Linked DNA regions of Homo sapiens: region 2 is linked to region 1. The links are contacts of gene promoters, found by promoter capture Hi-C in blood cells and fetal thymus (Javierre and others, 2016). All regions are on one chromosome and are shown on one strand. Each heading gives the region's core, a stretch centred on a gene start or on the middle of the fragment in contact. The rest is flanking DNA. Distances are from core to core; before and after follow the strand shown. Region 1 holds the start of PPP2R3B (protein phosphatase 2 regulatory subunit B''beta). Region 2 holds the start of LINC00102 (long intergenic non-protein coding RNA 102).

Region 1 (5,290 bases), core at 1,695-4,194:
CAACCAACCAGCAAAAAGGTTAAAATCAACATCGTAAGACTGACAGAACAGACTCTGTGGCAAACAAGACCAAGGGCCACCTGAGGTGAGGGTTAAGTCACACACCGCCTACACTTAAAGAATAAACTACAGTTCCAACTGCCAAAGCATTTCTTTTTCTCCAGCAGCTAAATGTCCTTTTAGGTTATTCACTAGAGACCTCTGCAGAAACTCGTTTTTGAGATTCAAGAAGTAAATAAAGGATGTTTTTCTTTTTCTCTATTGCTTATCTTGGCCTCAAGCTCGCGCACGCAAGAAGACTCTCTCTCTCTCTCTCTCTCTATATATATATATATACTTTTTTTTTTTTTTTGAGACAGGGCCTTCCTCTGTTGCTCAGGCTGGTGAGCAGTGGTGCAATCTCAGCTCACAGTAATCTCCGACTCCCAGCTTCAAGCATTTCTCCTGCCTCAGCCTCCTGAGTAGCTGAGACTTCAGGTGCGCCACCACGCCTGGCTAATTTGTGTATTTTTAGCAGAGATGGGGTTTCGCCATGTTGCCCAGGCTGGTCTCGAACTCCTGAACTCAAGTGATCTGCCTGCCTCCAACTCCCAAATGCTGGAATCACAGGCGTGAGTCACCATGCCTGACCAATATAAACAATATTAAAACACCTGCAGCTTCCTGTCAGATCCTGATGAACAGACCCCTCTGTTCCACCAGCCGTAACTACAGCTTTGACTGGGAAAAGACTGATTCCAGGCCAGGTGTGGTGGCTCACGCCTGTCATCCCAGCACTTTGAGAGGCTGAGGCGGGTGGATCACCTGAGGTCAGGAGTTTGAGACCAGTCTAGCCAACAAGGTGAAAGCCTGCCTCTACTAAAAATACAAAAATTAGCCGGGGGTGGTGGTGTGCGCCTGTAATCACAGCTACTCGGGAGGCTGAGGGAGGAGAATCGCTTGAACCCGGGAGGCGGAGGTTGCAGTGAGCTGAGATTGCACCATTGCATCTCAGCCTGGGTGAGAGTGAGAATCTGTCTCAAAAAAAAAAAAAAAAAAAAAAAACTGATTGCAATCACTTTATCCTGGTAACTACTCACCACGGACTGGTTCTGGCCGGTTGACAGAGGCTGCAGAGTTGCTTCACCTTTTGACCTAGGGGGCCTAACCATAATGCATTTAAATGTTAAGTCTCCGCTCCAAGGTGAACTCGGGAGTAGGTAACATGCATGTTTGTTCAATACCCATGCGTCAGGACACCCTTGGTGAATATCCATAGCTCTTCCTATAACTTCTTGAATATATACACTTGGCCAACCCACTCAGCATAAATTCCCGTCTCATCTTTTCTTCCCTCCAAGTGCTTGTTTTTAGTTTTCTTTTTTTTTTTTTTTTTTTTTTTTTTGAGATGGAGTCTTGCTCTGGTGCCCAGGCTGGAGTGCAGCCTCTGCCTCCTGGGTTCCAGTGATTCTCCTGCCTCAGCCTCCCGGGTAGCTGAGATTACAGGTACATTAGCCAGAGGCTGCGCTTCTCACCTGCGGTGTATAATCACCTTCTATGAAATAAATGGCGTTTCTTCTAAGAAATACAGTGGGATTTTGGGAGGCCGAAGCGGGAGGATTGCTTGGACCCAGGAATTCCAGAGCACTCTAGGTAACATAGCAAGACCTCGTCTCTGCAAAAATAAATAAATAAATAAATAAACAAAAATTAGCCTGGCGTGATGGTGCACGCCTGTAATCCCAGCTACTGGGGAGGCTGAGGCAGGAAGTCCAACTGTGTTTGCGCCACTGCACTCCAGCCTAGGAGACAGAGCAAGACCCTGTCTCCAAAGAATTGTAAAATAAATAAAAAACGGACCAGGCGCAGTGACTCACGTCTGAAATCCCAGCACTTTGGGAGGCCAAGGCGGGAGGATCACTTGAGGTCAGGAGTTCGAGACCAGCCTGGCCCACATGGGGGAAACCCAGTCTCTACTAAAAATACAACATCAGCCAGGCGTGGTGGCACGTGCCTGTAAGTCCCAGCTCCTCGGGAGCCTGAGGCAGGAGAATCGCTTGAACCTGGGAGGCAGAGGTTGCAGTGAGCCAAGATCGCGCCATCGTACTCCAGCCTGGGCAACAGAGCAAAACTCTGTCTCAAAATTAAAACAAATTAAAATAATAAAATAAAATAAAATAGGAAGCCTTTCTACCTTTATAAATTGTGTGATTTTTAGGTTAACAACTGTCAATGACGGAATGTTCAGTACGTGGGACTTTCTTGTCTGTATGTGTGTGGTGGGGGGGGTCGGGGCGGGGAACAGACTCAATATGAAACCGTTTTGGGGTCTGACGCTCGCCCACCAGCCTCCATCGCGCAGCCACACGCCCACTATGCGACCAGAGCCACCTGCGCAGTTGTTAGCAGAAGGAAGAGTAACTTACTACTCTCGTCCCTGCGGATCTACGGGTGCCTCGAACGTGGGGCGCGTTCCTGGGGCTGGAGGCGGCGCCCAGGGGCAGCGCAGGGCCCGGCCCGGGGGTTCCCGGGGGTTCGAGCCCGCTGGGCCGGGGGGCGGCGAGCGGGGCTGTGGGCCAGGCCCCGGGCTGCTCCCCGTCCCCCGGGGTCGGCTGGTCCCGCCCGGGCGCCTTGATCCGGCGCAGGCAGTCCTGCAGCATCCGCTGCGTGCTGGCCTCGCTGAGCCAGTACAGGAACAGCTCGTCCACCTTCATCTTCAGGACCGGCTGCAGCACTTTGCCGGGCGGCATGGCGGGGGCTGGGCCCGCGGCGCCCCCGGACGCCCGCGCCCCGCCCCGCCCCGGGGGCTTCGGTCCGCCCCGGACCGACCTCGGTGATGCGAGCACGGCCCGCTGAGGGGGCGCGGCGCAGGGAACAGGGCCCGCGCCTCGGGAACTGCGCGGACTCGCGGGGCGCGGGGACCGAGGAGGGGGCGCGGTCCGGCCCGCGCTGCTCAGGGCAGCTTCAAAACGGGCGCGCCGGCCGCGCTCCCAAACAAGGGCGCCCGCGTTCACGTCACTGCGTCGCGTCATCGCGACGATGTCATCACGAGGCGACGCCGCCGCTAGCCACGCGCGCCCCGCGGCCCTCGGAGCTTTTGCAGGAGGCTTTGGTGGGGCCGAGCGGCTGCGGTGAGGACGAGGGAGGGGCTGTGGCGGCCGTACCGCCCGAGCTCTTTCTGCGTTTAGGATTTTTAGAGGCGCGGCCCATGGCGGCGTGGCAGTCCTAGAGCTGCGGAAATGCGAGCATGCGCAATGCGTGCCTGCCAGAGCGAGGAGAGGGTGGAACCTCCGCATGGAGCATGCGCCGTGCATAGCGGTGGAGGAGCGGAGTTCGGGAGGCCGGTCGGGTGAGCGTGCGCAATGGCTGCCCGCGGGGCGCAAGCCAGAGGCTGGGAGGTGTGTGAGCGGGTGGGGCTGGAGGACGGGAGTGCGCCTGCGCAGTGGGAGGCACCGGGAACGAGCGAGCATGCGGGGTGCGCGCCCGCCGAGCTCGGGAGCGAGCGTGCGTCCTACGGGAGCGCGCGAGGAAAAGATCAAACTTTTCAATAACAGCGGGCTACCTGGGACCCAAAGGGCCCCGTTTACTTTAGCTTTGCTTATCAAACAGTAGAGACAGGTTGGAGGAGTTGGACCCCTTTAAACGTTGGTGTTCAGGGATGAGCGTGAAGTGCGTTGAAAATTGCAAAAATCATCCACGTCCAGGGAGGTGACATTAGTTAAATAACTTTACCCAATGGTCGTTTTTGTTTCTGCTTTTAACAGTATCCATAAAAACACTGCATTATCATCTGTCTGGCACACATGCACCTGTTTCCTTTACATCTTGCCCCGCTTTTTATTCATTTTTTATCAAAATAGGGTTTCACCTGGTGTTGCACCCTGTTAGAGAGTAATTTCAAGGTCTTTTATGAGCCAGGTTCTCCTACTTCTGAGCTGCATAAATCGAGCCAGACTCAATAAGTAACCCTTGGCCGGGCGCGGTGGCTCAAGTCTGTAATCCCGGCACTTTGGGAGGCTGAAGCGGGCAGATCACGAAGTCAGGAGTTCGAGACCAGCCTGGCCAGCATAGTGAAACCGCCCCCACCATCTCTACTAAAAATAGAAAAATTAGCCGGGCATAGTAGCGTGTGCCTGTAGTCCCAGCTACTCGGGAGGCTGTGGCGGGAGAATTGCTTGAACCCAGGAGGTGGAGGTTGCAGTGAGCTGAGATCACACCATTGCACTCCAGCCTGGGCGACAGAGCCAGACTTTGTCTCAAAAAAAAAAAAAATAACTCTTTTTTTAGTTTTATTTTTTTTTTGAGTTGGAGTCTCGCTCTGTCGCCCAGGCTGGAGTGCGATGGCAAGATCTCAGCTCACTGTAACCTCCGCCTCCCGGGTTCAAGGGATCCTCCTGCCTCAGCCTCCCGAGTAGCTGGGATTACAGGCGCCCGCCACCACGCCTGGCTAATTTTTGTATTTTTGGTAGAGACAGGGTTTCACCGTATTAGCCAGGATGGTCTCGAACTCCTGACCTCAAGTGATCCACCCGCCTCGGCCTCCCAAAGTGCTGGGATTACAGGCGTGAGCTACCACGCCCGGCCTAAATAACTCTTTTTGTTCGTATGAGACAGGGTTTTGCTCCGTCACCCAGGCTGCGATCTTAGCTGAGTGCAGCCTTGATCTCCTGGCTCAAGCGATCCTCCCACCTCAGCCTTCCAAGCAGCTGGGACAACAGGCATGCGCCACCATGCCTGGCTCATTTTTAATTTTATTGTTTATAGAGACGAGGTGTTGCTGGTCTCACACTCCTGGCCTCAAGCAATCTTCCTGCCTTTGCCTCTGTCTCTGCCTCCCAAAGCGTTGGGATTACAGGCGTGAGCCACCGCACCCGATTTAAATCACTCATAAACGATAGTTTTGTGTTGTGTACATAATGATTTGAATTTCAGTTTGTGTTTCGTGATTGGATATAAAAATCCGAGTGTACTTGGTCAGAAGAGCGCCATCACGCAGGAATTCTGTGAAGTTATTTTTCCTAATTGGGAAGCAACCGTTTGTGTGTGTGTGCGATGCTGTGATTTCTGGAGGGAAGTGAATATATTAATACAGTTCTCTGTTTGAGTATGTATCGGACACAGACGTCTTTTCAAGGAACAAACGTGCTTTTCATTCTGGGTGTTTCGATGAGCTGCGAGTCACTGTTGGAAGCATCACTGCAGTTTTGAGGGGAAAGGGTTTCCTTTGAATGCCTGCACAAGAGGCCTTTCTCTGCCAGGTTACTGGGGCACAGTGTAGTGAGGCCCAGGGCCAACAGGACAGAAATCAACT
Region 2 (5,157 bases), core at 1,259-3,758, 2.2 Mb after region 1:
TTTTGTAACTTTTTTTCCTTTTAAATTGAGAATCATTTTGCTATTGTCCCTTCTCTTCAGAGAAGTAAAACCTTCTTTTTAATTTCATTTGAATTGTTTATCACCATAGGTTGATTGAAGGAATGGTAACACGTTTTCAATGTTGAGTTTTTTCTTTTATTTTCTTTCCTTTTTTTATTTTGGAGACAGAGTCTCTCTCTGTCGCCCGGGCTGGAGTGCAGTGGCGTGATCTTGGCTCAGTGCAACCTCCACTTCCTGGGTTCAAGCAATTCTCGTGCCTCAGCCTCCCAATTAGCTAGGATTACAAACATGCACCACCATGCCCGGCAAATTCTTGTATTTTCAGTAGAGACGGGGTTTTGCCATGTTAGCCAGGCTGATCTTGAACCCCTGACCTCAGGTGATCCGCCCATCTCAGCCTCTCAAAGTGCTGGGATTACAGGTGTGAGCCACCATGCCGGCCTGAGCTTTTTCTTTGAGATTCGATTTGTCTCTTCCTCTTGTTGATTCTGTCAATGGGTTTCTAAAGTGTTTTTTCCTTGTTTTTGTTACTCTGAATCCATTTTCATGTCCACTATTTTTCTGTTTATTTCTGTCATGTAGAAGAGATTGTGTATATATTTTTTGCAATCCATGAAATGATGACCCTTTGTTAAATTTCAATTTTTTTTCTCTTCATTTCTGACCTTTTCTAAGAAGTTGGTCATGTTATTTGGTAATGGGTTTTTAAAATTTTCCCTGTTCCTAGATTTATACGTTCTCTTTACAGTTTATTTGTAATTTAGTTCTATGGCCTTTGCTAGAAGACTCAGGACAACTTTTAATATGTAGAGTTGTAAATATGGTAGACAACTTTTTTTCCAGACATTAGGACAAAAACCCAAAGAGATTCACCTTTAAATAAAATAAGTCATTTCAATAAGTGTCTTTCTCTTCTAGTATACTTTTTTTCTGAACACATAGGTTCTCATACCATGAGATTTCTTATTTCTATACAATGTATGTGAAAAATCATGTGCTTTTTATTCATTGCTTGTGTATTTTAATATGGTTTTGAAAAAAAGATTCATTTTGATGTAGCCCCTCATGTTTCTTTCATTTGAGCCTCCCTTATCACTCCCAATATAAAATGTGCCTCGACCTTAATTGGGATTTGAAAAGCTTGGAACTAGAAGGCTGGGCCAGGTAAGGTGGCTCACACCTGTAATCCCAGCACCTTAGGAGGCCAAGGCGGCTGGATCACTTGAGGTCAGGAGTTCAAGACCAGCCTGACCAACATGGAGAAACCCTGCCTCTGCTAAAAATACAAAAATTATCCTGGCATGGTGGTGCATGCCTGTAATCCCAGCTACTCGGGAGGCTGAGGCAGGAGAATGGCTTGAACCCGGGAGGCAGAGGTTGCAGTGAGCCGAGATCACACCACTGCACTCCAGCCAGGCAAAAGGACAAAACTCCATATGAAAAAAAAAAAAAAAAAGAACTAGAAGGCTGGCTTTGAAACTAGCATGAATGTCACATTAGTTTGTGGAGCCCAGCTGGGTGGGTAGAGCCACTTTTCAGACACAGATCAGAATCCGTCAGTCACAGATCAGATCACAGTCACCTGCCCTACCTCTTACGGTCTGCCTTGCTGAAGGTGTTGGGGACCTGGGAGGAGATAATGGGGAATCAACGGGACAGAGTTGTGTGCAGGCAGATTCAGAGTCCCAACTGGGTCCAGGCAGCACAGTTGATTTACAAATGACATTCTTTCTCTCTCCCTCTTTCTCTTGCTGTCATCTCTTACTCTTTTCATCTGGGGGAAGAATGATGTGAAAATGATCAGGAATTTACTTTTTCAAATGAGATCCTAGTCAGTGTGATATTCAGAAAAGTCTTTAGTCATGTGGGTCTCTGGTGATTTCTCCATCTGTTTCCGAGGTCATTCCTTCCTCATTTCTCAGAGCTTTACTATGAACAGACCGATTCCTTCCTTTAGGGGCAGACTTTGACTTAGCAGATGCCTTTGGTGAGGGAGGAAACAGTGAGTAACTCGTTAAAGTCTCCTCTGTTGCTGATTTGTTATTGTCACCAAATGACTGTCATTTCCAAGAGACTTATCTCTTTTGCATAATCCATGGATTGGGTTTATACAGTGGAAATATTGGAAGTATATGCCTTGTTGTGTTTTATTTTTGTTGTTGTTGGATTTTTGTTTTTTTTCCCACCAATATGCTGGCTTTTATTTTAAAATTGTTACAGACTTTGGAATGATATAAGGCAAATGTCACTTCCCTGGCCAGGTCAGACTTCATGGGCATGTGACATGTGATGTCACACAGGGACCTGTGCATACAAGGGCACCATATTGGTGTATTACTCAGTAGCTGCCATCTTGAAATTCGTCATAAAATTGGAACAGAATCTTGCATTTTCATTTTGTGCAGGGCCTCTCAAATTCTGGAGGTGGTCTGGACACCTGGCTTAGTTTTCTTTGAAAATACTTGAAGTTAAATCCTGTAGCTGGAAGATGATGGAAGGGAATTGGCAGGAGGCTATGTGTATGGGCATCCCCACCACGACAAAAACAAGGGTCATTTTTTACCTGTTTAGTGAAAGGTCTCTATGCAAATTGATTTTTCATTTCCTTTTCTGGTCGCCATGGAAATTGATTTTTCATTTTCTTGACTGCAAGGCACTGATGATCGCCAACTCTCATGTTTTACAAACAGGTGACCCAGCACCACCTAATCCCCCCAAACCAAAGCCAGATCCAAATCCCAACTGACCTGGTTTCACTGATAAGAGCCTCTAACCCTACGGGGTGGTCTCTATGTTGTTTACCTGGCAGTGATGTCCGTGTCATCTGAGAAGAGGAGATTTCAGGTGAGCCTGTTCCTACTGTTGAATTACAAGGTAATTCCAGTGTTCAAGTAGTGGAAAACCTAGATTACGAAAATATGTTTTTGGTTTGGATTTTATTTTCCTTTTCTTGATTTTACTTCAAAGATAAATGGAACTTCCAAATCATTGAATAAGAGCTTTTAGATGTAGACTTGATATGAGGAAAAGAATCTGTGTGTTTCCCATGGAGAAGCCAACTTGTTTTAAACAATTAGATTTTTACTGAGTGTTTTTCTTTACATGTTTGTTTAATTTTTAACACAGAAATCTATCCAGATGGTCTAAATCCTGTTGACATTTTTATGGTTTTTTGCTGGTTATGTTATTATTGGCATAAGAATATTCCTTGACCATTTTCTCATGTCATTTAATCGTTTGTATCATACGACTTTACATTATTATACTACAGACTTAATTACATACTTTGGTTTCTTTAAGTAATCCCTAATTCTGAAGTTATGTTTCTTCTGATGTTTTGGAATTATCAATTACAAAGCAAATTTGACTGCCCTTCATGCACTTTCCTTTATGTTTGAAGATATATTTCTAGAGTGCAAGTTGTTTACATCGATGTGTGTGAGTACTTTTGTAGCTTCTGACATGGTTTTGAAATTGCCCCAGAATTGCACCAATTTATTTTGATGGCGGCGGGGTGTGCAGATGACCCTTTCCTCACACCGTCTCCGATATTGGTGTTCACCAAAACATCTTTATCCAGTAGTGCAAAATGTCATGCTAACCTTGTCTTAGTTTCACGTCTTTAATTCTGAAACTTGAAACAAAAACAATGCATCAGTGGGCCATGGAGACTTCTTCTTCTGTGTATGGGATACTGTGTCTTTTATTCTTCTATTCTGGTATGTCCTCCCTGATTTCTAGTCATTTTTGAATTATTTATAGACAGTAAACATTGCCCAATATATTATGAAAATGTGTTTCCACTTTATTGTTGCCTCTGAAAACATTTTGAACAGAAGCTTTTATAAGCAAGGCTTGAATTTTTCTTTTTTATGTTGTCTTAGGTTTGTGTGAGTTTCCACCTTTGTGTAACACATTTTTCCTTTTAACAGAACCATTTTATCACTGTCTCTCTTCCTTCTTGGGAAAAAGAAAACCATCTTTTTCTTTTCATTTGCATTACTTACAACTATGAATTGATTTATAGAGTGCTAAAATATTTGTAAAATCGAGCAGATTCTTCTGTGTGCCTTTTTCTCCTGGTGATTTATTTAAATGGATTTCTAAGGTGTTTTCCCGTCAGTATTGATTTGTTTTGGTGAGTACGATTTTATGTGCGCTATTTGTCTCTCTGTTTCTGAACTATAGCAACATTTTTGTGCATTCTCTCTTACTCTCCACTGAATGATGAACCCTTGTGAACTTCCAATTGTTTTCTCTTCATTTCTTAATGTTTCTGAGAAGACCGACATATTATTTGTAAGTGATTTTAAAATTTGTCTCCTTTTCTATGTTTTTTCGTTGTCTTCAGAGTGTCTTCAGAGTGCATTCGTATTTTTGTTGAATTGGCTTTGCTAGAGAACACATGATGGCTTTAAGTATGAGTGAAGAGAGTAGACATTTTTTATTCCTGATTTCAAGGTAAAAACCTAAAGAGGTTCACCTGTAAATAAAATAAATTGTCTTTACAAAACCAGATACTCATTCCAAGAAGATCTCTCTATTCTAGTATACTTTTTTTTCTAAACATACAATAGTATAGGTTCTCATACTGTGAGACTTCTTATTTCTTTATACACAATATATTTGAAAAGTCATTGGTTTTTTAGTGATTACTAATGTACTGTTACATGGTTTTGAAAAGTGTTGGATTCAAAGTTTCCTTCATTTAAGCCTCTTTTTTCTCCCTTCCCCATATAAAAAGTTGATGATGGCCAGGAATAGAGGTTCACACATATAATCCCAGCACTTTGGGAGGCTGAGATGGGAGCATCTTTTGAGCCCAGGAGTTCAAGACCAGCCTGGGCAACATAGCAAAACCCCCTCTCTACAATGAAATGAAAAATTAGCCAGGCTTGTTGGCACATACCTGCTGTCCCACCTGCTTGGGAGGCTGAGGCAGGAGGATTGCTTGAGGCCAGGAGGCGGAGCCTGCAGTGAGCCGTGGTCACACCACTGCACTCCAGCCTGCGTGACAGAGGAAGACCCTGTCTCAAAACAAAACAAAAATGGTTCCTCGACTTTAGTTAGGATTTGAAAAGCTTAGAACTGGAAGGCAGCCTCTGAAATTATCAAGAATGTCACAGCAGTTTGTGG

The links. The method cuts DNA at HindIII sites, captures the fragments that hold promoters and counts their contacts. A CHiCAGO score of 5 or more calls a contact.
Region 2: a fragment that was not itself captured here is called in contact with the fragment with the promoter of PPP2R3B in region 1 in 1 of 17 cell types (total CD4 T cells); the score reaches 5.2 in total CD4 T cells.

Annotation. Positions count from the first base shown.
Region 1 is chrX:383,963-389,252 of GRCh38, forward strand. PPP2R3B (protein phosphatase 2 regulatory subunit B''beta) reads right to left here and starts at 2,945. Exons shown (of 13, transcript NM_013239.5): 1 at 2,406-2,945. The coding sequence starts at 2,729. The HindIII fragment of the contact is 20,425 bases long and covers 1-5,290 here.
Region 2 is chrX:2,613,105-2,618,261 of GRCh38, forward strand. LINC00102 (long intergenic non-protein coding RNA 102) reads right to left here and starts at 2,243. Exons shown (of 2, transcript NR_037842.1): 1 at 1,613-2,243; 2 at 1-592. It also overlaps the pseudogene CD99P1. The HindIII fragment of the contact is 2,699 bases long and covers 1,160-3,858 here.